Regions from separate parts of the Homo sapiens genome. Here regions 1, 2, 3 and 4 are each linked to region 5. Evidence: promoter capture Hi-C in 16 types of primary human blood cells and fetal thymus (Javierre and others, 2016). All regions are on one chromosome and are shown on one strand. The core of a region is centred on a gene start or on the middle of the fragment in contact, and the rest is flanking DNA. Distances in the headings are between cores, read along the strand shown.

Region 1 (2,700 bases), core at 95-2,594, 470 kb before region 5:
GCTCTGGGGATTGGGGTGGAGGCAGAAGCTATGTGAGTAAAACTAGAGGAACTACAGACAGGGCCTGGGGAGACTGGGGGTGTCTGAATGTGGCCTGCAGCAGTTGCTTGAGTTGGAATACTTTTGGGCAGAGGCTCATAGAAATTTCTTTCAATTGCTTTTTTTTTTCTTTTAAGAAGCTTTTTCCCATACAAATTGGAATTGTTTGAAGGAGTGGGCCTTAATTGTTGCCAGCCAGAGTGATTTTCAAAGCAGATCTATATGGATTTCACTTAGGGGTTACTTTCAGGGGGTATGTGGCTTGTTCTGAGACAGGAGGACGTTGGTTCCATTTTCCTGGAAGTTGTTGGGACTCCTGGATGGCCCTGCTCTATTTGTCTTGGGCCATTAGGCAAGTGGAAAAGCAGCTACATAGTTAGCCCTGTTGCATGGAGTTTAGTTTCATAATTCATCCTCTCAGGGATTTTTATACAGTCACACTTACAGCCTAAAGTTTGTTTTCTCCCTTTTTCTTTCTTTTCCTTCTTCAGTTCAGTGGTCCACAAAAATTCTTGGGAGGGTAAGTAATAATTTCGGGTAAAAGGCAGGAATTGTAGATCTTTTTTTAGCCCCCTGCCCCGATTAAATTTCTCCATATTCAGCTTCTCCTTCATCTGCAAAAGCATCTGCAAATGAGGTCGCTATCCCCTAATCAGACTGGCTTGTCCCCTAATTAGTCTGAATATGTGGCTTTGACAGCTTTCACCTGCTGTTTCTTAGTTTCTAGGGGATAAGATAGGATTGTGTGATTTCAAAGTGAAAACTGGCAAAATTGAAAGATGTTTTGTGGTGGCTCCCAACATCCACAAAGCTTAACTCATTGGTTTGCTTCTCATATACAAGCTTCCAGGAACATGGTTACTGTTAGTGGCTGGCACAGTGGGTTTGAAGACTTTGTTGGAACTTCAGGAAGTTTCCCCTTTGGCAAAGCTTACAGGGAGTTGGTAGTACTTGTCCTGAAAGTCTGACCCTGGTCTTATGCTATGCACACCTTGTTTAAAAGAATGCAGAGTACTGCTATTCAGCTATTGCTTAAGCAGTCCGTTTCATATATGTCTGCATTAGTTACATACTTACATAAGATTTTACTATGTTTTGTGTTATATTTGAACTAGAAGTCATAGTTTCATACATGACTCTTATTAAGCTGATAATAAATTGGCAAATTTTGATATCATCCAAGACTTTGAGGTAATGCTGGTCATACTCAAAAGGTCTGTATTTGGGTTTAGAAACTAATTTTTCTGTTAGCTAGCGCCTCTCCATTCCCAGGTGCTGTTCATTACTCATTATAGACATCTTCTGTCCCTCTGCTTTGTTAAAAGTCTTTAGCTGCTTGTCATGATACTGAATAGATCTTTTTGCAGCAGCATTTTAGCTCTGAGCTGGCTGTGTTTTACAGTGTTGGAGATCAGTTGGTTAACTTTGGCATTTCCTACCTTCATACGTAAGCATTAAAGTGTGTTAAGTGCATGTAGTAGCCCTTCAGAGAGGCGCTTATCAGGGACTTCTAGTGATTTTTGTCAGCTGTATAAAAATGCTATGATTAATAGATAACCTGTATCTGTGTGTGCATGCGCAATTTTCTTTTATGCTTACTCTGCGTTTCTTTCTCTAGGAGTGGTGTGAAATAAGTGTTACTCTGTAGGCTTTGCTTTTTTTCAATAATGAGAAGCTTATTTTAAGAATCCCTTATTTGACTTTCTTGAGTTTGGTGTAGGTATCATTTACCCCTTTTGGATTTTAGCTTTACTATGGGTTATTTTTTGCAGTGTTAGAAGCAAGTAGTAAATACTTTGGTATCCCCGAGCTTAAAGAAACCTAAAAATTTTGACTCATTCAGCATTCTGTTTTAAGTTAGGAAATTATTTAATTCTAGTATCCCAAGCTGTATTGTATTGATTGCTCTTTAAGAAATGATAACAGGTGGCCGGGCGCGGTGGCTCACGCTTGTAATCCCAGCACTTTGGGAGGCTGAGGCGGGCGGATCACGAGGTCAGGAGATCGAGACCACGGTGAAACCCCGTCTCTACTAAAAATACAAAAAATTAGCTGGGCGTGGTGGCGGGTGCCTGTAGTCCCAGCTACTCGGAGAGGCTGAGGCAGGAGAATGGCGTGAACCCAGGAGGCGGAGCTTGCAGTGAGCCGCGATTGCGCCACTGCACTCCAGCCTGGGCGACAGAGTGAGACTCTGTCTCAATAAAAAAAAAAAAAAGAAATGATAATAGGTATCATCCTGCCCATGCCCCAGCCCCCCACCAAAAAAAGTTAAATAACTTTGGACATTAGAATTAAACACATTAAAAAAAAAACCTATCACACTACACTTTTCATAAGCAGACGTTGTGATGCTGAACTATTGTGTAGCGTTTTCCAAACCAGGATTTACGCCCAGATTCCCTACCGGTAAGTTAATTCCTAACTCTAAATTCATAAATACATATGTAATGAAATGTCTCCTTTTCATTTCTGCTTCCTATGTGTCCCTATCCCCTTTACCAAACAAGTAACCACTGTTACTAATTTGTCTGTTATCCCCCCTCCTTTCTTTTTGACACAAATATTAGCATACTCTCTGTATTTTTTGCTCCTTGCTTTTCTCCATTTCCTATATCAGAGGCTACTTTTTCAAATGTAAAAAGGTCTATTAAAGTTTTCATT
Region 2 (2,722 bases), core at 197-2,696, 500 kb before region 5:
TTATCATATATCCCCATCCTGACTCCCGGGGAGGCTGGAACTATCTCCCTGAATTCACAGCAGAAGGACGTAGTGCAGACATTGTCATTGCTGAAAAATATTAACATATGTTCTTCCTCCCTCACTCTCCCAGGTATCTTCTGCTGTTCTCGCCCTCAGGAATAAAACTATTATAGTGGAAATGCAAAGAGAAGAAGAGTCTGAACTCAGCTTTTGAATTTCAAAATATGTTTTGAAATGTGTGGCTGGAGAGAAAAGTCTCTGTGTTTCAAAAGCCTCATCTTTTGTACTCCAAAAGTTTGAAACCTACATGATTCTGGACATGAAGTCTATGTCCTACAAAATCCAGAGGTTCAAACGAAGCAGAATCAGCCAGGATAGGTTTGGCAGCCCCACCTGGGAGAGGCAAAGGCAGCAGGGGCTGAGGAGAGAGGGGAGGCGAACCAGAGTCTTGTATGGGTCTCTGGAGGATCCTCCTCGCTTGCCTCTTTACAGATGGAGCCTCAGGGAGGAAAGAGGGAGAAACGGAGCCCAGGGGTCACTGTGGCATCTGGAAGGAGCAAAGACCTGAGCCTGGCTTCTCTTTACAGGCCCTGGAGGCGGTGGCTTTTGCAGTGTTTCCCCTCCCAGCGCGATGTCCAAGGAGTAAGGATGCCTCCTCTGTGTCTACATTGCAGGGGCTGGAGACAGCCTCTTGGAGCGTCCCAAGGCCCCCAGAACAGTGGGAAAACCCAAGGTTTCCCCATGTCCTTGACAGAGGCAATCTCAGTGCCTCAACAACAAGGATCAGATAGGTCAGCTGGGTGGAGCCCAGTGCGGATCGATACTGACAGCAGGACAGGGACCCAGAGGAAGATACCTGAGCAGGTGCCAGCAGGGACAAGGAAGACAATGAAGACCCCATGCCTCAACAAAACAAAAATTCAGAAGCTTATGCTCCCAGTGGAAAGCAGGATGAAGAAGTTATTAACTTCAGGTTCAGAGAAAAAAATGTTAGACTTTTTTGTCCCCTCTTCCCTATGAGATTTGTATCTGCCCAAAGTAAAACACCCTAAAAAGTTCTGAAAGGCACAGGGTGAAGCACTGGAAGGCAGTGGACATGGAGTGGGGGGACAAGAGTTTCTTTGTCACTAACCATCTTGTGTAACCTTGAGCTGGTCGTTTCACCTCTCTGGGTCTCAGTTTTCTCATCGGTAAAATAAGATGTAATACTACCTGCTTCTCTGGTCGGTTGTGAGGATTAAACGAAAAAAAAAAATCCAAAAAACAAAACCAAAAAAACCCCACTTAGTTTTGCACCTGGTAGTTGTTATGGGCTCAGCAAATATCTGACCCTTCCCTGCCTTTCCCCAGTGAAAGGAAATTGTTGCCGATTTAGAAACACCATAATTTTTGCAGGAAGGATGGATCCATGAGGTTATGTATACCAGCGCCTGGAAAACAAAATAAAACAAAGCCTTCTTCCACTCTGAAGAAGCAATAAAAACCTCAAGGCAAAAAACAGACAATGAAAATGACTTGAGAGCAGGGTGGGGGGTGGTGGGCAGGGTGAGGGCGGCGACTGCACTAAATGAAAAACAACAATTCAATACCCTGCTATCATCCTTCATCAAACTACAGAAATAGAAACCAGACAAACACATTATGTGAAGGGCAAAAGGGCTGGCAAGGTTCTGGCCTATAGGAAAAACCCTGGTTCAATAATCCCACGAACAGAGGGAGGTAGGGAAGTGAGGTCAAAGTCAATAGCGAGTATTTTTTTGTCAGAACGCTGGTTCTATAGCCCTAATGAGGCTTAAACATCACTCGTTCCTTTTTTGCTGAATTCAGTTTCTCATTAGACTCTGTATCTTCTCCCAGATCAGCCAGGCACATGGCAGGAGCTGCTTCCACTTCCTCTGGCCCATGAATTATCAAGGGTATTCTCTGAATTTTTTTTTTTTTTTTTGAAAAGAAAGCTTTGGAGTAGAAAATGGTCTCTTCTATTTATATCTCCTCTCTTCGCTCTGATTAGAGAGGTGATCAATTTTGGGGAAGGACTTAGACCCTGTCTTTATTCAGAGGACTGCCTGGTTAAGACAGTATTTTAAGATTATCTGCTCCGGGTCTTTATCTGTTTTTCTAGGGAAAATCTTAGGTCTGCAGTTGTGTTTTTTAATATCTTCAGGAGTCTTGGAATAGCCAAGTTTTATGTCAAGCTCAGTGCTAGGTGCTAGGAACACAGAAACAAAAAACAGGAATTAGGAAAGTGATCATGTTCTCAAAGAACGCAAAGAGATTTTACACCACCAGCTTGTAGGTAACCAGACTACTGGGTTAGCTGCAACTGGCATTTGAATAGATCTTTCCCAAGATCTCTTATCTCCTAAAGACCTCGCAATAGCCCTGTGGCTAGGTACTCTGGCTCGCTTTTCACAGATGGACAGCCCACTTAACTCTCCCAGTCTTTGTTCTATTGAAGACCGCAGCTGACTCCAGTCCTGGTCCTTTGACTCCAAGCCCTGTGCTGAGTTTTCTCCTGGTAGCAACCCAGTGGGCAGTGCCAAACTCTTCTAAGCCCATGGAAAGGGCACACAAGAATTTACTACCTTTTATCAGAAACCATTCCCTGGGAAATTCCTCCTCATTTTGAAAGAGCCAGGTCAAATGTAACACTCTGGGTGAAACTTGTTCTCTCTCCCCCAGGCAGACGGAGTTACATCTTTCTGTAATACCCCTATTG
Region 3 (2,700 bases), core at 157-2,656, 440 kb before region 5:
AATTGTGTGTATGTGTACATACATATGTACATAAACACATATATACCACATATACATCTATATTTCCATATCTCTTTGTGCTATATACGTATATATACATGCATGATGTTTGTGTGTGTGTTACATATTTTAAATTATAAAACAATGCATTTTATATTATAAAATCATGAATTCACACTGATAACTCCATTAAATGCAGCCAACCTCTTTCCATATTTGTAAATATATTCTCCAGTAGGGAAAAACTTGGCTCCCCTTATCCCCAATATGTTTACTTATTTGCTCAGTGTAGCCAGTTTTCCAACCGCGATGGCTGACTCCACCACCTCTGTACCCTACTCCTCATGTTCTGGAATCCTCAGTCAATGGGCTCCTTTGGCCCATTCTTCCTTGTGGCTTCCTAATCTCCCTAGAGTTTCCCAGCTTTACCTGTAGTCTTCCAGTGCCCCCTGACCCCCAACCACTCTTATCTTTGGCCTCTGGGCCTGCTGTCCTGTGCATCCTTGATTCCTCAGCTGCTCACCTACCTGTGTCCTTGGCTGCTGTGCTAACTCCTCTGTGACGGAAGGGGGACAGGGCTTTTTTTTTTTTTGAGGGGGATTTTATACGTATACACATATGTATATGTGTGTGTGTGCATGTATATATATATATATATATATATATATATATATATATATAGTTCATTCAGGTATAATTTACATGCAGTAAAATTCATTCTTTTAAGGCTACATTTCTATGAATTTTGACAAATGTAATATAGACATGTAACCACTACCACAATCAAGATATAAAATGCGTCCATTACCGTAGAAAGTTTCTTCAGGCTCTTTCACAGTTAGTTCTCTCTTCGCATCCGCAGCCACTGGCATCACTGATCAGATTTCTGTTCCTATGATTTTGCCATTTCTAAAATGTTATATAAATGGAATCATGTATTATGTAGCTTTTTGAGTATGGCTTCTTTCACTTAGTGTAATTCTTTTGAGATTCGTCTGTACTGTTTTAGGTATTAGTAATGCATTCCTTTTTTGCTGTTGAGTAGCTTCATTTCTCTTGGGTAAATACCTAAGGTTGGGAATGCTGCAGGGTCATATAAGTGTATATGAAGTGTTTAAGTGTATGAGAAACTGCCAAACTGTTTCCCAAAGTGGCTGTACCACTTTGGATTCCTGTCAGCAATGAATATATCTACATTCTTTCCACTATTTGGTATTGTCCGTTGTTTTTTTAAAAAATGAGAGTCCTTCTGATAGGTATATAATGGATATCTCTTCGTGGCTTCAATTTGTATTTTCCTAAATATTAATGATGTTTAGCATCTTTCATTTGCATATTTGTCAGTCATATCTCTTTGATGATGGGTCTGTTTAAATGTTTTGCACATTTTTTTAAAATGAGTGGTTCATTTGCTTTTCTTTTTCTTTTTTTTTTTTTTTTGAGACGGAGTCTCGGTCTGTCGCCCAGGCTGGAGTGCAGTGACGCGATCTTGGCTCCCTGCAACCTCCGCCTCCTGGGTTCAAGAGATTCTCCTGCCTCAGCCTCCCAAGTAGCTGGGATTACAGGCACACGCCACTGTGGCCAGCTAATTTTTTGTATTTTTAGTAGAGGCGAGGTTTCGCCATGTTGGCCAGGCTGGCCTTGAACTCCTGACCTCAGGTGTTCCACCCGCCTTGGCCTCCCAAAGTGCTGGGATTATAGATGTGAGCCACTGTTCCTGGCCGGGTGGTTCGTTTTCTTACTGAGTTCATTTTGAAATTCTTTATATATGTAGCAAATCCTTTTTCCGATACACATTTGTAAATATTTTCATTCATTCTGTTATTACTTTTATATTATAAATGTGGCTTGTTTCATATATAAAAATGTTGGATTGAATTCTTGGGGGCTTTCCTTTTTAGCCCTTGTGCTGTGAATACACAAGGGAAATATTTGTGAAAGGATGGATCTAGATGTTGAGGGAGGTGGAGATCTTGGAGGATCAAGTGTAATTATCTCTCCTCAGTGACTGGAGGTACTTGTTGAGAACAGGAAGGAAGGACTGAGGGAAGAATTAAGAGGGGGGGGTGGTGGTGGTGGTGGTCAGAGTTTTTGGTTGGAGGATTTGGTATAGCAAATTCAGGGGTGGGATAATGGCTACTAGAATTGTGTAAAATAGAAAGATAAGGAGTCAGGGGGATTTAACATGAAAAGTGTTGAACCTAGCTGAAATCAAACAGGGAGCTGAAAACAACGTTAGTAACCATGTTGTTCAGCCTTTTCATTTGATAGGTAGGAGATAGCCTTAAGAGAGGGGATGCGATTTATTGAAGATTATATGCGTCATGAAGTGGCAGAGTTAGGACTTAAATTCAGATCTTTAAGGACAGTAGTGAAGGAGGGGCTCAGCCCATGTAGGAAAATACATTTGGGGGTGGGAGCAGGAGGTGGAGGAAAAACTAGAATTCTAATGGCATATGTTTTTGTTATTCTTTATATCCTTCACATAATTTATAAATATTCTTCTTGTATCTCCTCAGTATTAAGTAAAATAACAGTAACAAGTCTGGAATGACAGCAGAATTAGTGATTGAGCTGGTAATAGTTTGACCAGAAATCAAATTGGAATATATGTTGGGTCAAACAGAAAACACTAGTGATCAAGTGGGAACTCATTTTTGGCACAACATGAAAATTTGATTTTTTTTTTTTCTGTTCCTG
Region 4 (2,784 bases), core at 47-2,546, 380 kb before region 5:
TAGTCCACTCATGACCCAGTTGCTTAAATATTTTGTTAATGGATGGATCATAATTTCACTGATTGACTTTTCAATAGATTGACCTGTTATTTTGTATATAGGCAATTGATTTGTATTGTAATGAGAGGTTTAATGTGACCATCAAAAAGAATTATCTGACTAAAGATAGGGCCATTTACAAAGGAAAATTATAGAATTTCCATTAGCAATTTTCAAAATCGAGAAATTCATCTGACTAGACTTGGTTAGGGCAGCTAAGTAGTTAGTAGGGATATTCTTGCTGTAGCGGTTAGTACTACCAAGCAATCGATGGTCTTTTATAATCAATTCTGGCTACCATTTTGTGAGTTACATTTAAGAAGCTTGACATATTTATTCAGTGCTTTGTTCTTCAACAGACAGTCACTGGCAGATGATTTAGAATGAAACCAACTAATTAAGTATAAGGTAAGACAAAAGGCCTCATAGTTGGTGGACAATATAGTTACGGGTTTCAGTTACAGATTAAATATTTTAATTTTCTTAATAGCATTAGCTGCATACTATTATACTGATCTCATCTAGGGTTGATTAGAGAGACAGGGGAATACAACAGGTAACTTAAGATCTTGTGTTAGAAACTTTGGTACCACCAGAAAATACTCTCAGCAAGTACTATGTAATCATGCATTTAAACAGCTCTGATCTCACTGGAGTCTCATTACTCTGCTTAGCTTTTATCTGCTGAATATTCTTTAGTGTGATATCCTAAGCCTTCTGTGATATGGCCTCAGTCTTTTTCCTTCTGTTTTGTGTAAGGTACTCTGTTCAAGCCACACTGTGGGGTGGGGTAGCGTAGCTTTGGAATTAAATGTGGGTTTGAATTCTAATTCCTTTACTTACACTATTTCCCATGTCCCATGTTTAAATACAGGTCGTCCTTTAAATCTCACTTCAAATGCTACCTTCTCCTTGAGGTTTTGGCTAGTGCATTTATTTGCGAGCTGACTCAGTGTCCCAGGGCACATGCTTTCTACTTTGCTTTTTGTGTTTTTTTTGGAGACAGGATCTCTCTCTGTCCCTCAGGCTGGAGTGCAGTGGCGGAGCCTCGAACTCCTGGGCTCAAGTAAGTGATCCTCCCACCTCAGCCTCCCAAGTAGCTGGAACTACAGGCATGCATGTGCTACCACGCCTAGCTAATTTTTTAATGTTTTATTTTTAGTAAAGACAGCGTCTTGCTATGTTGCCCAGGCTGGTTTTGAATTCCTGAGCTCAAGCAATCCTCTTGCCTCAGGCTCCCAAAGTGTTGGGATTACAGGTGTGAGCCACTGCACCCGGCCTTCTACTTTTTTTTTAAATTTTTTTATTTTTTATTTTTATTTTTTGAGATAAAGTCTTGCTCTGTTGCCCAGGCTGGATTGTAGCGGCTGGATCTCGGCTCACTGCAACCTCTGCCTCCTGAGTTCAAGTGATTCTCCTGTCTCAGCCTCCCGAGTAGCTGAGATTACAAGTATGCGCCACCACGTCTGGCTAACTTTTATATATATATATATTTATTTTAGTAGAGATGGGGTTTCACCATGTTGGCCAGTTCGAGTTGGTCTTGAACTCCTGACCTCAAGTGATCCGCCCACCTCGGCTTCCCAGAGTGCTGGGATTACAGGCGTGAGCCACCATGCCCAGCCCAGCCTCCTACTTTGTAATAGTACTTTATCACTGCCTATTGCATTATGGTGAAAAGGTTTGACCAACACACAGAATTCTGTAAGAACAAGAGTTCTCTCATGCTTCTTAGTTTTCTTGAATACTTTGCACAAAGTATGTGCCCAATATGAATTTGGTAAAGTGTGGTAACGGGATAAATTAAATAAACTCAACTTCAGCTTGTTGAAATACAGAGACTACTCCATTTGGATTTTCTCTTATGGACAAAGTGGGGGAAAAAGCAAAACTGTGGTCAGACTTTCACTAGGTTTTTATTGCCTTTGCCTTGCCAGAGCGATATGAAAAATTAATACTTAAGAAGCTAGATATCTGATGTTCAGCAAGAGAGTGCCTCTTACAAGTTTAATGGGTTTGGTCAAGTGGATATTAAATGTAAATCTGTCATTTTATGGAGCCATAGAAGGCTCTTAAGACACTCAATAAATATACTTATTGAATTAGTAGAACTTTTCCCATGTATCTCCTATTACTACATTAGGATCTTTGTTCCCTTAGTGTGTCTTTAGCCTGTGCTCTCACAAGCTTTGTGGTGTCGTGTGGATCACAGGATCGTTTAAGATAAAGATACTTTTAGCTCTTTAATTCTGGTATTCTATTATTGGTACAGGGAACCCATACATTATCTTAATTTCAGAGTAACACACGTCTCGGCATGGGACAGGGGGTGTCCTAATGAAAAGAGGGCTAACAGGTGGAATACTGACTATGTGCAGGCACTGTATAAAGCAAGTAGTTTTTAAATCCCATTTGCAGGTGAGGAAACCAAGGCTCAAAGGGATTAAGTCATTGTCCAAGGCTATGTAGTTGTTAATGAGTGAATCTGGGTTTTAAAATAAATGTGTTAAATTCCAGGGTTGATATTTGCACTGGGCATTTATTTACTTTTATTTGAATTTTTTTTTTTTTGCATTTTACTTGCATGCTTAATTTTTCTTTGCTCAGCAGCAAACATTATGTTCCCCACTTGCTTCCCACTTGCTTCCCTATTTACTAAGGGGTGATAGTTATGTGTTATGTATCTATAGTCCTGTATAGTTTACAGGTATTGCTGTAATACCTGTAATGGGTATTGCTTTCATA
Region 5 (2,700 bases), core at 158-2,657:
GGGACCCCATCTTGTCTCTGACACCACAGGAGGCTTGATTCACTGGCTCCTGACCTGGCTGCTCCCTCCCAGCCTGGCTTCCCACCTTCCATGAGGTCTTGGACAACATCCCCTGTCATCCTCCTGGTGCTGGGGACAAGGGGAGGGGAGGGCACAGAGAGGCCTCCAGAGCTGCCTTCCGGGCCCTCCAAGACAGCTAAGTTACAGGAAACCCCTCCTGGGAAGGGAATCATCCAGGAAACTCACTCTGCACCAACCCAGAAAAAGCTCAAGAACTCTGGATAACGAAGGAGCTTCTTAATCTTCCTTCCCCACCTCCAGGTAATGCAGGCTGCAGCCAGCTCCAGAAGAGGGACAGGAGTGTTTGTGGTAGTTGACTCGTCTTCCCTGAGCCCCCGTTTCCTCCTATTTAAATGGGCTATTACTCTAGCTCTTTAAATGCAAAGCCTGTGGCACCAAAACTAGCACATAGTAGAAGCTCAATAAATCTTTCTTTCCTGGGATTAAGTCAAGGGTATAGCACTCAGTTTGACACATACAGTAGGTGCTCAACGAATTTAATTCTCTCTAGGTATGCAAAGTTGCCAGACGATCCCGGCACATAGTAGGTGCTCAATCAATTTCACTTTCTCTGGTCATCTAAGGAATCACTGAGCTTTCCTCCTCCAAGCCTCTACCCTTTCTTCCCGGCTGCTCCACTTCCCCCAGATGCCCAGCTCTGTTGGGGCGTCTCCTACCTGGGAATGGCGGGCCGGGCCTCTGGCACGGCTCAGAGAGCTGCCTGGAAGCGCCGGGAGCTGCGGGGAGCTGCCTGCTGCTCCAGCCGCCGAGCCTCCCAGAGTCTGTGGTGGCTCCCGGGTCACTGCGCGGGGATCCTCCCCTGCGCTGCTCGGGACGCCGGGCTGGGCGCGGCCGGGCAAGGAGGCGCAAGGGGCAGGTGCCCCATGGGTGGGCTCCGAGGGCTCGGCGGGGCCCGGGCAGGGGGCGGGCTCCGGCTCGCCGCCGCCGGCCCTGCCCTGCCCCGAGCCGGGGGCCTCCTGCTGAGCCAGGTGCCCGGAGGCTTGGGGACGTCCGATCCGGGGGTCCCCGCCTGGGGCTCTCGGGCTGGGGGCAGAGAGGTAGGGGCGACTCCAGTGATGAAGGAGCAGCTCCTAGAGACTTGGGGAGGGGGGGTCCTTTGGAGGTGACTGTGGGTGCGTGTCCCAGGTGGGCGAACCCTCCTGGTCGCCTATGCCACCTTCTCCGCCTGCCCCAAAGGGGGTCGCTCGGATGGGGGGTATCGGGCTGCCGGGCTCGGCCGCGGCCTCCTTCTCTGCCCGCGGCTCTGCAGCTCTCCCAGCGCCGGAGGGACGGCTTCTTTCTCCCCGCGCGGCGACGCCAGCAGCTGAAGGAGGAGCAGGGCGCTCTGCTCTGCGCGCGTGTGGGAGGGGGCCTTGAACGCCGCCCCAAGGTTTCGCAGCTCCAAGTTAGCATCAACCCGGCTCCTCCTCCTTCACCTCCTCCTGTCCCCAGATGAGGAGAACTTTGTGTGTGGCCCTGGGTTCTCCCTCCTTCCCCCTCTCGCAGGCAGATGCCCCACTGTCACCCGCAGGGCGAAGAGGTCGCTGATCCCTCCGAAAGGTGGCAGAACCCCAGGCTCCTGATGACGGTCCCAGCGGCACCCTCCCGCGCCCCTGCGAGCGTCGCCCACCTGCTCCTTCGGCCCCCCGCGAGCCGCGCCTCCCGCCGCCCAGCGCCAGCGTCTGCCCCCCAGAGCCCGCTCGCCCCGCCCCACCCCGGCGCCCCGCCTCGCCCCGGCGCCCGGCCAATGGGAGGCGGGTCCCGCGGCCCGGCCCCGCCCATCCCTTTCGCGGCCTCCGGGGCGCCGCGGTCTGCGGTTCCGCGTGTCCGGGCGCGTGGGGCCGGGGCCGCTGGGCGCGCGCACCTTGCCCAGAAGGCGGCCCGGGCCTCGGAGGCTGACGTCTGCGCACGCGCTCACACGCACGCCCGGCCTGGCCGCAGGTGACCCGCATGGGGTCCGGCCGCCTGCCCACTCGGCCGGGGTCTCCAGCGGCTTGCGCCCGGCCAGGTCGAGCGCGCCACGGTTCCAGCGCCCTCCTCCTTCGCGGAAGTCCCCGGGTGCCCTCCCAGGTGTCCAACCTGCCTGTCCCAGCCGCCGCCTCCCTCCCGAGCTCACGGTGCCCACGGGACCCTGCGGACTGGCACATGGGCCATGCACGTGTCGCCCAGAGGGGCGGGGAGTCACCTAGGCTTAGTAGCCAGAGGTCTTCGAGGCATGCGAGTCTCAGAGACCACGGCCGACGGGGACACACCAGGTGCCTTGAGCATTGCGTCTCCTGCCTGCATTCTCCCTCCCCACCTTTAAATGAGGGGCTTGACCTAGGCCAGACATCGGGCCTTCTCACTGGGCCATATCTCCACACCACTTATTACTTAATATATTTTTTAAAATATCAGATCCACTTTCCCCACCCCTTAAACACGTTTTTTTAGAGAATCATTATATCACTGCCTTAAATGGGAAATCAGTATCACTTGCCATAAATAGAAAGTAAGAGTTAAAATAAGCACAGTGAAAACAAAGCAAGGTTATTAAATTCCAGCTGGAAACCGTGGCCTGCCAAGGCTTGAGATGTGTGCCCTCAGTGAAAAAGGGAGATTGGCAAGGTTTGGAGAGGTGTTAAATACCCATTAGCACCT

Evidence for each region. The method cuts DNA at HindIII sites, captures the fragments that hold promoters and counts their contacts. A CHiCAGO score of 5 or more calls a contact.
Region 1: a contact is called between a fragment that was not itself captured here and the fragment with the promoter of RASD2 in region 5, in 1 of 17 cell types (M1 macrophages). The highest score is 5.4, in M1 macrophages.
Region 2: a fragment that was not itself captured here is called in contact with the fragment with the promoter of RASD2 in region 5 in 1 of 17 cell types (M1 macrophages); the score reaches 5.0 in M1 macrophages.
Region 3: a fragment that was not itself captured here is called in contact with the fragment with the promoter of RASD2 in region 5 in 1 of 17 cell types (M1 macrophages); the score reaches 5.4 in M1 macrophages.
Region 4: a contact is called between a fragment that was not itself captured here and the fragment with the promoter of RASD2 in region 5, in 2 of 17 cell types (M1 macrophages and M2 macrophages). The highest score is 5.2, in M1 macrophages.

The regions. Positions count from the first base shown.
Region 1 is chr22:36,013,677-36,016,376 of GRCh38, reverse strand. All of the region lies in intron 1 of RBFOX2 (RNA binding fox-1 homolog 2), which reads left to right. Among named protein-coding and RNA genes, the nearest start is that of RBFOX2, 14 kb to the left of the region's middle. The HindIII fragment of the contact is 745 bases long and covers 972-1,716 here.
Region 2 is chr22:36,035,374-36,038,095 of GRCh38, reverse strand. No RefSeq gene overlaps it. Among named protein-coding and RNA genes, the nearest start is that of RBFOX2, 7.9 kb to the right of the region's middle. RefSeq lists an enhancer at 2,126-2,722. The HindIII fragment of the contact is 1,028 bases long and covers 933-1,960 here.
Region 3 is chr22:35,975,704-35,978,403 of GRCh38, reverse strand. All of the region lies in intron 1 of RBFOX2 (RNA binding fox-1 homolog 2), which reads left to right. Among named protein-coding and RNA genes, the nearest start is that of RBFOX2, 52 kb to the left of the region's middle. The HindIII fragment of the contact is 3,382 bases long and covers 1-2,700 here.
Region 4 is chr22:35,923,772-35,926,555 of GRCh38, reverse strand. The region is part of intron 2 of RBFOX2 (RNA binding fox-1 homolog 2); the gene reads left to right. Among named protein-coding and RNA genes, the nearest start is that of RBFOX2, 100 kb to the left of the region's middle. The HindIII fragment of the contact is 1,864 bases long and covers 365-2,228 here.
Region 5 is chr22:35,539,538-35,542,237 of GRCh38, reverse strand. RASD2 (RASD family member 2) reads right to left here and starts at 1,407. Exons shown (of 3, transcript NM_014310.4): 1 at 738-1,407. RefSeq lists enhancers at 1,057-1,619, 1,620-2,182, 2,183-2,700 and a silencer at 1,716-1,935. The HindIII fragment of the contact is 7,504 bases long and covers 1-2,700 here.